Linked DNA regions of Homo sapiens: all the other regions are linked to region 5. Evidence: promoter capture Hi-C in 16 types of primary human blood cells and fetal thymus (Javierre and others, 2016). All regions are on one chromosome and are shown on one strand. Each heading gives the region's core, a stretch centred on a gene start or on the middle of the fragment in contact. The rest is flanking DNA. Distances are from core to core; before and after follow the strand shown.

Region 1 (2,700 bases), core at 24-2,523, 300 kb before region 5:
CCTCACCAACCAATGCCATTATCTGACTTTTTTATTATAGCCATCCTACTGGGTGTGAAGTGGTATTTCATTGTGGTTTTGATTTTCACTTCCCTGATGACAAATGATGTCAAGAAAGTTTCATGTGCTTATTGGCCATTTGTATATCTTCTTTGGAGAAATATCTGTTAAGCCTCTTTAACCATTTGTCAATTGGGTCTTTTTATTATTGAGTTGTAACGATTCTTTATATATTCTGGATATGAGTCCCTTAACAAATATATGATTTACAAATATTTTTTCCTATTCTGGGCTTTGTCTTTTCACTTTCTTGAATGTGAATTTTTATGAAGTCTAATTTATCAATTATTTTTGCCTTTGCTTATGCTTTTGGTGTCATATCTAAAAATTCATTGCTAAATCTAAGTCATGGCCATTTACCTCTATGCTTTCTTCTAAGAGTTTTATGGTTTTAGCAGTTAGATGTTTGACTAATTTTGAGTTAATTTTTGAATAAAGTATGAAGTAAAAGTGTAATTTTATTGTATTGCCTATGGCTATCCAGTTGTTCCACCACTATTTGTTAAACAAAGTATTCTTTTCCCATTGGATAGCCTCAATACCCTTGCCAAAAGTCAGTAAACCATAGAAGCCATGTGTTTATTTCTGGACTCTTTATCCTGCCCCATAGATGTATATGTCTATCTTGATGCTAGTATCACACTTTCTTGATTACTTTTGTTTTATATTCTGTTTCAAAATTGGGAAGTGTGAGTCCTCCAACTTTGTTCTCCTTTTTAAAGATTGTTTTATATTGGTGTTTCAAAATTCAATACAGATTTTAGGATCAGACTTTTAATTTCTACAAAGAAGCCAGCTGCTATTCTGACAAGGATTGCATTGAATCTGTAGAGCGATTAGGAGATTACAGGTATCTTAACAATATTAAGTCTACCGATGCAAAACATGAGTATTCTTCAATTTACTTGTATGTTCTTTAATTTCTTTAAGTAACGTATTTTAGGTTTAAGAGTGTAAGTTTTCTACTTTGTTGTGTTTATTCGTAAATACTTCATTCTTTTTGATGCTATTGTAAATAAAATTTTTTAAAATTTTTATTTTATACTATTTATGGACAGTGTATAGAAATACAATATTTGAGTATTGATTTTGTGTTTTCACAACTTTGTTGAATGCATTTCTTCATTCTAATAGTTTTTTAGTCAACTCTTTAAGATTTTCTACATATAAGATCATGTATTCTGTGAATACAGTTTTACCTCTTCCTTTCCAATTTGGATACCTTTTATTTGTTGACTAATTGCCCTAGCTAAAACCTGTTAAATAAAAATAGTGAGAGTGGGTATCTTTGTGTTGTTCCTGATTTTAGAGGGAAAGTATTGTCTTTCTCCATAAAGTATGATGTCAGCTGTGAATTTTTTACAGATGCCCTTCATCAGATTAAGGAAGTTTCATTCTATTTCTAGTAGGTTGAGTGTGTTTACCATGAAATGGTGTTGAATTTGTCAAATGCTTTTCCTGCATCTATTGAGATCTTCATGTGGGGCTTTTTGGTTTTTTATTAAATTGATATGATATAATACATTAATTGATTTTCAGATGTTAAACCAACATTGTTCCTACAATGTCTCACTTGTTTACGTTATAATTCTTTTATACACTGCTGGATTCAGTTTGCTAGTTTTTTGTTGAAGATTTTTGTATTGATGTTCATAAGAGATATTGGTCTGTAGTTTTCTTGTTATGGCTTTGTTTAGTTTTGTTAGCAGGGTAATATTGGCCTCATGGAATGAGCTGAAAATTGTTCCCACTTTTTTATGTTTTTAATGAATTTGTGAAGATTTGGTATTCTTATGTAAATATTCAATCTCTCTTCCTGCTAATGGGTCTATTCAGATTATCTATTTCTTTTTTAGTTGCTTTGGTAGTTTGGGTTTTCCTTGGAATTTGTCCATTTCATCAAAGTTGTATAATTTGTTGGCATTCAATTGTTCATAGTATTCCTTTATAATCCTTTTTATTTCTCTAAGGTCAGTAGTAATGTGCCCTCTTCCATTTGTGATTCATGTAATTTTGCTCTTTTTTTCCTCTTGATCTAGCAAAGGTTTGCCAATTTTTTAGTCTTTTCCAATAACCAGGTTTTCATTTTACTGATTTTCTCTATTGATAATCTCTTTTCTATTAATTTCCACTTGAGTCTTTATTATCCTTGTGTAGTTGCTCTTCTTTTTCCATTGTCTTATGGTACAAGGTTACATGCTTAATTTGAGAACTTACTTCTATATAAATATAGGTACTTACAAGCTATAAAGTTCCCTCTAAGGACTGCATTACCTGCAATCCATAAGTTTTGGTATTTTGTGTCTAACAGTCATTCATCTTAAAATATTTTCTAATTTTCCTTTTTATTTCTTTTTTTACCCTGTGATTACTTAGGAGTGTGAGTGTTTAATTTTTACATATTTTTAAGTTTCCCAAATACTGTTTCTTTTTGTATTAATTTTTATGGATACACAATAGTTGTACATATGTATGGGATACATGTGATGTTTTGATATAAGCACATAATGTGTAATGATCAAATCAGGGTAATTGGTATATGACCTCAAACATTTATCATTTCTTTGTGTTAGGAATATTCAAATTTCATGCCTCTGGTTATTCTGAAATATACAATATTCATTGTTAACTATAGTTGCC
Region 2 (2,700 bases), core at 201-2,700, 260 kb before region 5:
AACATAGGGAAAAGACACTACAACTCAAAAAGGCAAACAGCTTATAGGGAACACTATGAACACAAGATTTCTGGTTACTTTCTATTCCCATTAAACAATGAGATGACAACCATATCATTTAAGCAAAGCTGTTCTAATATAAGAACACAACATTTTCTTTTCCTCTTAGATGTTTCTGATGAGAAATAAGCACTGTTTTTTGGACAAAGTTTTTGTGGCCTCTAATCACAGTATTGAAATGTACTTTAATTATTTACCCTTTAAAATTAGAATGATTAAACAAAATAGATACTTCTATATAATTTGTGTATCTGTTTGTTTGCCTTATGTTTAAAAATTGGCCAGAATTTGAAACTCATATAATCATCTTTAGACTCTTCTATCTGCCCCAGATGTGGTTTTCAACTTTTGCTTCCTAAGCACAAATACATTAAAAGGACTTTTTCGACCTTGAACTTGACTGCTCAGAGTTTATGCCCGCTATAAATGGAACACCAAGGGTGGCCAAAGGTGGCAGAGTAGCCTGCCTAACAAACAATATTGATCCAAAACAAAATATTAAGTTAATGTTCTCAGGTCAGTTACTTTTCCATAGAATATGCAAAGATAGTAATGGGCATCTATTAAATATATCCATGAATATTATCAGATTATTCTGTTTTTTTCTCAAGTCTACTGCCCACCCTCCCAATCCCATATGTCTGCCATTCTCCTCTTATCTGCTCTTATTTTAACATCTTCACTGGCCCCTTCACCAATGCACCATCCAATCAATCTACAAACATCTTCAAGTTCACATTATCTTAAAAATGTAAAAACTCTTTACTCTGCTCTTTTTATTAAATTTTTATTCTGTTTCTTGAAAGGACAAACTGTGTTCTCAAAGCAGACACCATATTATATTGAAATGATCTATGTGTGTGTTTTGTCCCTCCCAAATTTCATACTCCTTGAGAGCAAGGACTCAGCTCTATTGGTTTTTGGACTTCCAGTAGCTGGAAAATTTCCTCATTACACATCAGATGCCCAATAAACAGTATGTGAACTAAATTGAATCCATCACCCATTTATCTCTTATTATTGTGAAATATGGCTTCTGCTCTCACAACTCTCCTGAGGTAAACCAGTCAAACAACCCTTTCTCTTCTCTTAGATGCTTCAACCTGTTGGCAGCATTTAACAGTGCAAAAGCATAGGCTTTGGAATCAAATAAACTTGAGCATAAATCACAGTTCAGCTACTTGCTATTTGGTGGCTTTGGACATGTAACCTAACCCCTCTGAACATCAATTTCTTCCTTTGTAAAATTAGGGTAAGAATATATCTCTAATAGGATGCATGGAAAGATTAAATAACATTGCATACATCTGGATCTGGATATAGAGTTGATACTCAATGTGTGTTAGTTCTTTGCTCCTTCCTCTTCTACTCTTCCTTTTCTACAACACTGCAGTCTATGTTCCTCCTTCCTAATTGTTATACTCTCTATATATAACTTCTCAAACTCCTCCAGTACTGTTCTAATAGAGATTCCAAGGATCTGTCATTCCTCGTTCTTTCATTATTTACATTCTTTCCCTCAATAATCTCATCTGATCTTTGAATTTAACTATTGCTTTTAGCCCCTACTTAGTTGACTCCAAATCTCTCTCCAGCCTCTCCTGTGATCCCCCACAATGGGCTAGTCATCTGCTGAATGCTCCTAAGTTCAAGTAGTACATTGCCCACTCTACTGTCTCCACTCTCCCAATATGCTTGTCCCAACCCTGGCAAAACAACCCTAGCATCCCAACTCCCCTGATCAAATGCTTTCAGTAGCTCTAATGGCCTACAATGAAGTCTGAAAACTTGAGTTTGGCGTTCAAAAGTCTCCATAGCCTGGTCTTTATTTCTACTTCAGCCATATTTTCCATGACTCTCATAGATTCACCTTATGCTTCAACCAAATTTTCAGCACTTCATTAATGATTCCTAATATTATTATCCCTGGGTCATTACCCCAAGGCTTCTCGAATGTCCATCTCCCAGTTCCCACCTTTTTCAATCCTAGATAACCCCTAGGCCCGACAACAATGTCCCCTCTCCATGAAGACTTTCTTGGATTCCACAGCTAAGAGCTATCTTTCCTTCTTCTAAGTATCAAGACAATTGAGCAATCTCTCTCTTGAATACTCATTGTCTGCAAAATAATAGTTATTCATGTCTATTTTATTTATTTTATAGCCTGCTAACCTGCACGTCCTTCCCCCATCCCCAGTGCATTTTACCCCCTCCCTATTTCCACTTCCCTCCATAACCTGGAGAAGAACTTAAAGGGGCTTTAAAAATCCAGACAAACAGATATATTAAATAAGCAATCTTAAATGTATATGCATAATCAGTTTAATAAACCTTCCAGGGAATAGCTGAATGCATCCAGAAAAGAAAGTTGTTCCTATGCAGCCAGGGCTATGAGAGATACAATTCCAGGATCTCATCTGTGTTCTGAGTGGTAAAGATTGCTGGAAATCTGACCACCAGATAACTGGAGAGTTACTGTATAGCTAAGGCTTCTTGCCAAAGATTTATAATTAGCAACAGAATCAGCTGGCATTACTAAACTATTTTTTGTTTCTTTAATCTCCTTTTCCTCCTTTTTGTTTTCTTCTTCCCTGTTTGTGACTGATAGAGCCAGATGATCAATAATCTTTCTTTCACCAA
Region 3 (2,700 bases), core at 184-2,683, 330 kb before region 5:
AAATAAAGTAAAAAATAAAAAAGTAGGGAGGATTTGGTCAGTAGTCCACCAATTTTTGTAATACTATCAAATCACAGCAGAAAAAAAAAACTTATGATTTAAACAATTAGGTTGCTGTCAGCATAAAAGTAGTTTTAAATAGATATTTAAAATATACTATATACACACTATGGTGTTTAAACTGGAATGATATATTTTTTAATGTAGCAATGACATTTGAGCCACCTAACTACAGAAGAGAAAAAAAAAAGCAAACTACTCTTCTTTAAAGGAAAGTAGTTTGTGTGCGCACACAGGTATTGAATATGTTAACTTAAGGGCAAATACTAATGGTTCACTCAGCTGGAGGTCAAAGGACCTCAATCCACAAGGACATGTTTGTTCTTAAGAAGTAAATGAAGCTAGACCCTGACCTTAACAATGACCATGGGCCACCATTATACACTTTTTAAAAATAGCATTAAACAAACCTCTTGGGTCTGCCTTTAGAACTTACTTACTTTTCCACAATCCTAGAACGGCATTTCTCAACCTGGACAATACTGTCATTTTGACCCAGATAATCTTTGTTGTGGAGGTCTATCTTGTGCATTATAAGAGGTTTAGCAACATTCCTGACCTCCACCCACTAGATGCCAGTAATGTCCTCCCCGCTGTTAAATAGTGACAATTAAAAATGTCTCCATACTTACGAAGTGTGCCCTGAGGGGCAAAATTGCTCCTGTTAACTGTTGTTCTAGATGCAGAGCACTAACCTTTGTTAAAGGCTGGCTTACAGAAGAAAGCAAGAAACAATAGCTGACAGCTTCAGAAAAGACGAAGAAATGAAACAAAATAGTGATAACAATCAGTTGCATAGCATTCTAGGGTCATTTAGTGTAGGAGCTTCAATCACTAGCCTAAGTGTGAACACCACTACAATAAATATGAGTGACAAATATTTTGTTCTGCATTAAATAGAGATGCCTTTAGTGAGGGTATCACGAAGTTTTTGCCAAACAAGATAGCTGATGTTGACTATGATGATCCCGAGTCACCAGGAAATCGTTAGAAGAGTTTCTTCAGTGTAGCACATCAAAGAAGACAGAAAAGAAATAACATTTGAGGATTATTTCCATCAGAAGATCAAATTTTCCAAATTCAAGACAACTAATGTTTGTCTGAAAAAATGCCTCTGTGCTGACATACATGTTAGATTTTCCAAGACAAGGTTGAGTAGGAATATTTTATTTCACTGGTGGCTGTTTCATTTATAGTTTAGAAAAGAAACCAATAAAGGGAATGCCTTATCCCTGGTAAAATCCTATATATTACGATGTGTGCCTAATTTGTGTCACAGATCTTACATAAGATGAATTCTGCTAGTTCCTGCCTGTTAAGGGATATCCATGAGGATACCAGAGAGTGATGTGTGTCTGGGTAAGAAGAGGTTTCAGGGTCATATTCCAGAGCCCAGGTCAAATAAATTACTTGTGGAAAGAACCTACAAAGCCAAGCTAGGGTGAAAAGTAGAAGAGGGAAACAGAAAGGACCAAAGGTCCCAAACTAAACAATAGAAAGCAAAATAATCAAGAGTCAGAACAGGGGAGGCCGGAGTCCAGATGGGTCAAAGTCTTATTTTTAAGAAATTTTGGAAATTCGACTTACAATAATTAAATAAATGAGCCAGACCAATTCCAAAGTCTTAATGGCAGTCAAAAACAGGATTTCAGGAGTAAAAAAAAGAAGCAGGACAGGCCTCAACATTTTCATCATGACCTTCAACAGGCCTCACTCCTCTCTGGGGCCATGGGGAAAAAGTTCACATAAGGACATTCTAGAGGGAGCAACAAAAGGGATTGGAAGGAAGTCAATCATTATGTTCTCTATTCACTTGTATTTTAGATATTAAATCAACCTGCAAACATAGAGATAGACTTCAATTTGGATGCCAGAGATATGTGTTTATCTGAGCTCAATCACTATGTAATTTTTGATAAGTTAGTTAACTTCTCTGATTCTTAGTTATTATATATGAAATAAGCACACATACTAAGTAAAACCCTGGTAAAATGAAAAATCATATTTGATTACGTTTGTAGGTGACTAGCTATCAGTCTTCACCCAGTTCCCATCCTCAAATGAAGGCTGGCCAAACAGGATTGGGGTTGCATAAGTGATTGCTTGTCGTCATGTGGGACTCTTTCAGGTCAGTATATGGTCACTTGTTCTAATATAAATCTCAACATCTCAAGTTTTGTGCTTTTTGTGATAGAATAGGCCAAGTAAAAAACATTATTTTCATTGATTTTGCAATAATACAACCCTGCATTTTCTGTGATTAATTTTTCTAGACACACTTTTGGTATTTTAGAGGTGTTTTACAGTACCTACCTCATAGAGCAGTGGTCCCCAACCATTTTGGCACCAGGGACAGTTTCGTAGAAGATGATTTTTCCATGGACCAGGGAGGATGATTTCAGGATGACACTGTTCCACCTCAGAAGATCATCAGACATTAGATTCTCATAAGGAATGTGTACCCTAGATTCCTCACATGTGCAGTTCACAATAGGGTTTGCACTTCTATGAGAATCTAATGCAGCCGCGGTCTGACATGAGGTGGAGCTCAGGCGGTAATGCCTACCCACCTCTGGTCACCTCCTGCTGTGCAGCCTGCTTCCTACCAGGCCACAGACTGGTACTAGCCCATGGCCTGGG
Region 4 (2,700 bases), core at 119-2,618, 320 kb after region 5:
GAACAAAGTTTTCTTGTTATGGAGTTTATAGTTTATTCTTACCACAGGTTGCCAATTCAAAAGTGTTTGTGTAGTTAGTAGCATGCACTGTGAAACCACTGTTTCCCAGGAGTTAAGCGCTTCAGTGCAACTTCAAGTAGACACTTTTAATATCCTTTCTAGCTTATTTTAAAAAATAAAATATTACACGTAAGGTTCTATATGGCTCCCTGGATACAAGACATTATTCCTAACAGACTCTGCTTTAAAGACCTCTAGGATAAATCTCCTGTATATTTGCCCTTTAAAGTTCGACAACTGTGTTTTAAAAGACAAGCTGGATGTTTATTATACTTTTACAGAGGGAAGACAATCATTATTTTTAATGAATGGAATGGAAAATAAACGGGGAAAAAAACTCATCCCCAAATGGATGCAAAATATGCTATATAAAAGACCTCTGACTATAGAATAAGGAGCATCATAGTTTTGCTTTTGTAATTAATGTGCTTGTTTTTAACATAATGATTGAGACTATTAGTCTGATTTTAGAGCACTTCTTACCTAGTTGCTTTTAAGTGTTTAGTGTCTTCATGGTTAGTTCTCCATATGACAGGAAAAAAATTAGAAAAATAAAAGATGTATTTAATTCTACTTTCATCTCCAACATTTATTTGTTTATAGGAGAAAGATTTTCTGCTTTTATTAAGGTCTTAGTCAATATGTTTACTTTTGCTACTGTCTCTGATTTCCTGTACATGGGGCCTCTAGAGCTACGATGCAGATACTCTGTTGCCCTTTCCTTTCCTTATCCTTTCTTTAGGCAGCTTTCATGCTTTCTTGTTTTCTTGGGGTCACATTTGGCCAACTACCCTCTTTGGGGCACATTGTCCTTTCCATTAATGACTAATTCTTGTTCATCTTTCCTTTATTTATACTATTCTGTTGTTCAGGCCCTGGTGTTTGTTCACATCATGGACCTGCTGGTCTTCTGAGCTGCCATCCCACAAAGATGACTGCAAGGGGAGAGTAGGAGCTGAGTCACAGATGCTGCTCACAAAAGTGCAGTCATTTCATCCTTATGTCTTTCTAAAGAACTTAATTCTGTATTTCAGTGAATTTTTTCCTAAAGTCTCTGCTATGTTTTCCTTTGTTCACCATCTCATGCTGATAATAAAAATGTAACACTCCCCTTCTTTAGGAGAAATTCCTGGTTGAATATGTGTAGTTGAGAGAGCATTGAGGGGTGGGATGGCTTGGTCAAAATTCCTCCAGACTAGTTATCTTTTGGTTCTTTTCTAAGCTTGTTTTCATTATTCTTTTCCATCATTAGTATTTATTAAGAGCTTTTATGTTAAAAGCCAGTGCCTATGCTAGCACTGGTGATACAAAGCCAAACTTGACAAACATGGACATATGGCGCTAGCACACAGCAAGCACTTAGTGAACCCTTTGTTGATTGAAAGAAAGCTTAGTGCCTATATCCATTTGCTGATACTTGTAACCTTGATTAAATAATCCCTGATTGAAAGCCATCCGTGATTTCCTATTGCCTATGTAAAATCCAGAGTATGCACAGGGTTGCTGTGGTCCACGCAATCTGGGCGCTGTCTGCCTCTGCAACATCATCTCCTCCCCTGTCTTCTCGTTAATGTGCTGTGGCAGCACTGGCCTTGTTTACTCACTTTGAAACATCAAGCTTTTTCCTGCCTCAAGTCCTATTACTGCTTGCTGGTCCCTTTGTTGGCAATACTTACTCATGCCCCCAACCCACACCCCTTGTTCTTCATGGCTTTCTCAAGTCAGCTAAAGTTTCGTCATTTCAGAGAGTCCTTTCCTGAGCACCCGATCTAAAATGAGACCTCTATTTTAGCACTCTTTTTCTGCCTCTGTAATAACATTTTATATAACCTGTAATAATTTTGTTTGCTTGATTTTTTTCTCCCCATTTTATTCTAAGCTTTATGATGACAAGAGTCATATCTATCTTGTTTATCGTTTTATCCCTAATACCTAGTATGCCACCTAGCAGATAATAGCTGCTTAGAAAATGTGGTCGAAGGAATGAGTTATTAGAGTTTGAAAAATATGGTTGCCATTCACTTTGTTAATTTACTTACTTTTTTCCTGCTCTGCGCACTACCGGTATCCTCTGCCTAAAGATATCATCTCTTCTACATAGAAACACAGAAACAAGTCACTTAAGGGCTGGTGTTACTCAGTTTTACTGGATTAAACCAAAGAATTCCATACACATTTTTTTCACTTTCATGGGTTATATTAATCAGACTATGAAAGCTGCCATTTTCTGTTATGTAAATTTTGACAAAAGAAAATATGATTTTCTGGAATTTCCCTTGTATAAAAGTATTTCTAGAAAAAAAGTTTCTTAGTTCAGGAAACATTAGTCTAGAACAAGCTTGTCTAGCCTTTGGCCCAGGACAGCTTTGAATGCGGCCCAACACAAATTCTTACATTTTCTAACTTTCTTAAAACATTATGAGATTTCTTTTTAAGCTCATCAGCTATTGTTATTGTTCGTGTATTTTATGTGTGGCCCAAGACAACTGTTTTTCCAACATGGCTGAGAGAAGCCAAAGATTGGACACCACTGGTCTAGAACATGCCTGTGATATTGTGTAAAATTTCATGTGATTGTATTTTAAGGCTTTTTAGTTTTGACAGTGGCCACCCATGAACAATGACTTTTAAATTTATGGA
Region 5 (2,700 bases), core at 165-2,664:
ATGGAAACCCCAAAGAATTATTTTTCCCCCTTCAATGTTGATTGCAATATTATTTCACATTTCCGTGTATCTGTTGTTTTAATCTCTTTCGTCTGCGCTAATCTCGAAGTGGATTATTAATGGGGAAGACAGAGAAGGAGAGATTCATTTGCAGGACTTATTTTGCTGTGTGAGGAGCCGAAAGCCAGCAGCCCCCAGTCCTCTCTCGACTTTTCTCTGCGTCCTGTGCTCCTGCATCCTCCTGATCCCACGATCCCCATTGTCCCCGAACTGGCCCTCGGACTGAGGGAGTGTTCGGAACAAATTTATATTCCGGCTTCCTCCCGACCCCATCACCTCTGCCACGTTGGGAACTCTCTCGGCCAAATGCCTGGGGAGGGGCGTGCCAGTCAGGAACCAGGGGCAAGGCAACCTAGCCGCAGCGCTCACCCCTCGCGGAGACCCTTCCCGTGCCACCATCCAAATATCTACCTTCATGGGAACCTGGAAGACTGCTTTTTCACCCCAAATCAAATACTGGCTAGTCGGAACTCCCAGTGATAAATGTTGGGGACTGCCTCCTGCCACTTGAGCAATTCCTGAGTCCAGGGTAATCAGATGATTAGGTGTTTTTAATGGAAATACTTAGGGTTTTTTTTTTTTTTTTTAAGTCAGATCCTAAGTAACCTGACATTTAATATACATAATAAAGACAAGTGTTTTGTTAGCTATTCGATTGGATCCTTTGACCTGAGGTTATGCTTGTGTGTGTGTCTGGTCTGTAAGCCTCCAATGGCTACCTGGGTGCCTGAAGAGGAGTCTTGCCTGTAATAACTCTATGCAAAGGGCTCCTTCTTCCTTAGGAGTGGTGGAAGGGTGGCTGTAAAGCAAACGTCTAGAGAAAGCTGGATTCCAATCTTTTAAATTAAAAAAGAGGAAAAAAAGGAAGAGGAAGAAAAATGGACATGAACAGTGGTGCTAAATCTCAGAAGAGGAACTTGATAAGTCACACATATATTTAGTATAGATATATAATAATGAAAGAAATGTAAAATATAAAATTAAGAATGTGCCTGACCCATGTTGAAAATCTTTGATTTTATTTATTAATAATTTTTAAGCTGAAGATCCTGAATGCCTTTCTTCTATAGACACTTTATCTGTGATGGGGTGGGGGGAGAGAGTTAATTTATCCAGCAGCTATTTTCATTATAATAAATACTTAAATTAGGAAAGAGGTGAGTAACCAACTGTGAAAATCTACTTTCTTGCATCCTAGAACAAGATCTAGCTGTGGTCGTGCTAGGTAGCTATTAACCACCCCCACCCCACTCCCCCGCCCCGCAAAAAAAAATACAAAATACAAAGACGTATACCTCTGGGAGTGTGGATGTGGCAACCCATGTGGTGGCTTGTCCCTCCTTTGAGTGCAATTGCCAGTGACTCTTGCATTCAAAGTCTTGCTTTAGGCACACATTCAAAGCACAGTTCAAAGCAGTTTATCTTAATATAGTGTTGGATCAGGGTATTATTTGTTTCAGATTTCATCAGACTGGAAACAGGAGGGTGTAACATATTTAACAATATTAAAGCTTAAAAATTGGTGTGAGGCAGCTCTCTGGTCCTCTTAACACCTCCACCTTTACCTTTCCGAAGAATCCTAAATGCTGTGAGGCTAGAAGTTTATTTGTGCTCTGAGGTTCTCAAGCACTTTCACTCTTTAGGAAAAAAAAAAAAGTCTCACAGTTATTTAAGAAATTGAGCCTGAACCATCCGAGGATAGGAGATTTCTTCCTTTTCCGATAAATGCCTGTGCTCAGCATCCTCAAATTTGGCTGTCTTTATTTACTTCTATATTAGTTCCAATTATGTGCAGTGTAAACCAGCTTTTTGATTAACAAAACAGCAGAGCATTGGTTAAGAACACTTAAACTTCAAAAAAATTCCCCTGGGAAGTGGGCTCTGAATTGGTTAATAATGTGCAGTACTTGCTAAATTGCTGACTTCCAGATGTGGAAAATATCTTTCTTGTTTAGGACCTATGTAACCTGATTGGATTACGACAGAAGCGTCACGTTGGAAGCTTTTGAGTGATTATTTAATTAACCATACAGTAGAAAGCTGTATTCTCCAGGAAATCCCTTCCATATTTGCATAACCAATCCCTTCAGAGCAAAGGTGGAGTCTTTTCTTTTTAATCTTACTTTAATTGTAATATCAAAAAATATATACTCCAAAACTTAGACCCCATGCCGTTTAATATCATGCTCTCCCTTCCCTGCTAAGTTTCTCTATGGCCTTTCTCGTTTCTCCTCCTGCCTCCCTACACACTCTCCCTTACTTTGTAGTGAGGTCTCCCCGAGGTGTAGAGAGATTCAGAGATCGGCCAACCGAGTGTTCTATTTTAATTTACTTAGAGACCCTTTATTAAAATGCCAAACTACTTTTTAATATTGGGATCCAGTCCAGAAATTCATCATGCACACACCCTAATACACATGCCCTAAGATGCAGCTCCCATGCAGCATTTTTTTTTCTGGCTCTGGTACCTAAAAAGAAAAAAATAACAATAAGAGAAAGGGCAGAGAACTTTGTTCCAGAAGCTGTACTGAGATACCTACACAATTTGATGTGCATCTCAAATCTGGTCATTAGAGATATCTGTATAAGAAGAGACTATCTGGATTGAGGACCCGGGATCTTTCCCTTTAACTTTCGCCC

Evidence for each region. The method cuts DNA at HindIII sites, captures the fragments that hold promoters and counts their contacts. A CHiCAGO score of 5 or more calls a contact.
Region 1: a contact is called between a fragment that was not itself captured here and the fragment with the promoter of LINC01412 in region 5, in 1 of 17 cell types (monocytes). The highest score is 6.8, in monocytes.
Region 2: a fragment that was not itself captured here is called in contact with the fragment with the promoter of LINC01412 in region 5 in 1 of 17 cell types (neutrophils); the score reaches 5.0 in neutrophils.
Region 3: a fragment that was not itself captured here is called in contact with the fragment with the promoter of LINC01412 in region 5 in 1 of 17 cell types (neutrophils); the score reaches 6.1 in neutrophils.
Region 4: a fragment that was not itself captured here is called in contact with the fragment with the promoter of LINC01412 in region 5 in 1 of 17 cell types (non-activated CD4 T cells); the score reaches 5.2 in non-activated CD4 T cells.

Annotation. Positions count from the first base shown.
Region 1 is chr2:144,821,877-144,824,576 of GRCh38, reverse strand. The region is part of intron 2 of TEX41 (testis expressed 41); the gene reads right to left. Among named protein-coding and RNA genes, the nearest start is that of LINC01966, 59 kb to the left of the region's middle. The HindIII fragment of the contact is 5,411 bases long and covers 1-2,700 here.
Region 2 is chr2:144,776,787-144,779,486 of GRCh38, reverse strand. All of the region lies in intron 2 of TEX41 (testis expressed 41), which reads right to left. Among named protein-coding and RNA genes, the nearest start is that of LINC01966, 100 kb to the left of the region's middle. The HindIII fragment of the contact is 7,010 bases long and covers 1-2,700 here.
Region 3 is chr2:144,853,061-144,855,760 of GRCh38, reverse strand. The region is part of intron 2 of TEX41 (testis expressed 41); the gene reads right to left. Among named protein-coding and RNA genes, the nearest start is that of LINC01966, 28 kb to the left of the region's middle. The HindIII fragment of the contact is 8,335 bases long and covers 1-2,700 here.
Region 4 is chr2:144,200,318-144,203,017 of GRCh38, reverse strand. The region is part of intron 4 of QTMAN (queuosine-tRNA mannosyltransferase); the gene reads left to right. Among named protein-coding and RNA genes, the nearest start is that of QTMAN, 130 kb to the left of the region's middle. The HindIII fragment of the contact is 167 bases long and covers 1,285-1,451 here.
Region 5 is chr2:144,520,582-144,523,281 of GRCh38, reverse strand. It overlaps LINC01412 (long intergenic non-protein coding RNA 1412), which reads right to left and starts at 1,414. Exons shown (of 3, transcript NR_110570.1): 1 at 1,356-1,414. It overlaps ZEB2-AS1 (ZEB2 antisense RNA 1), which reads right to left. Exons shown (of 4, transcript NR_040248.2): 4 at 2,383-2,528. The HindIII fragment of the contact is 4,746 bases long and covers 1-1,573 here.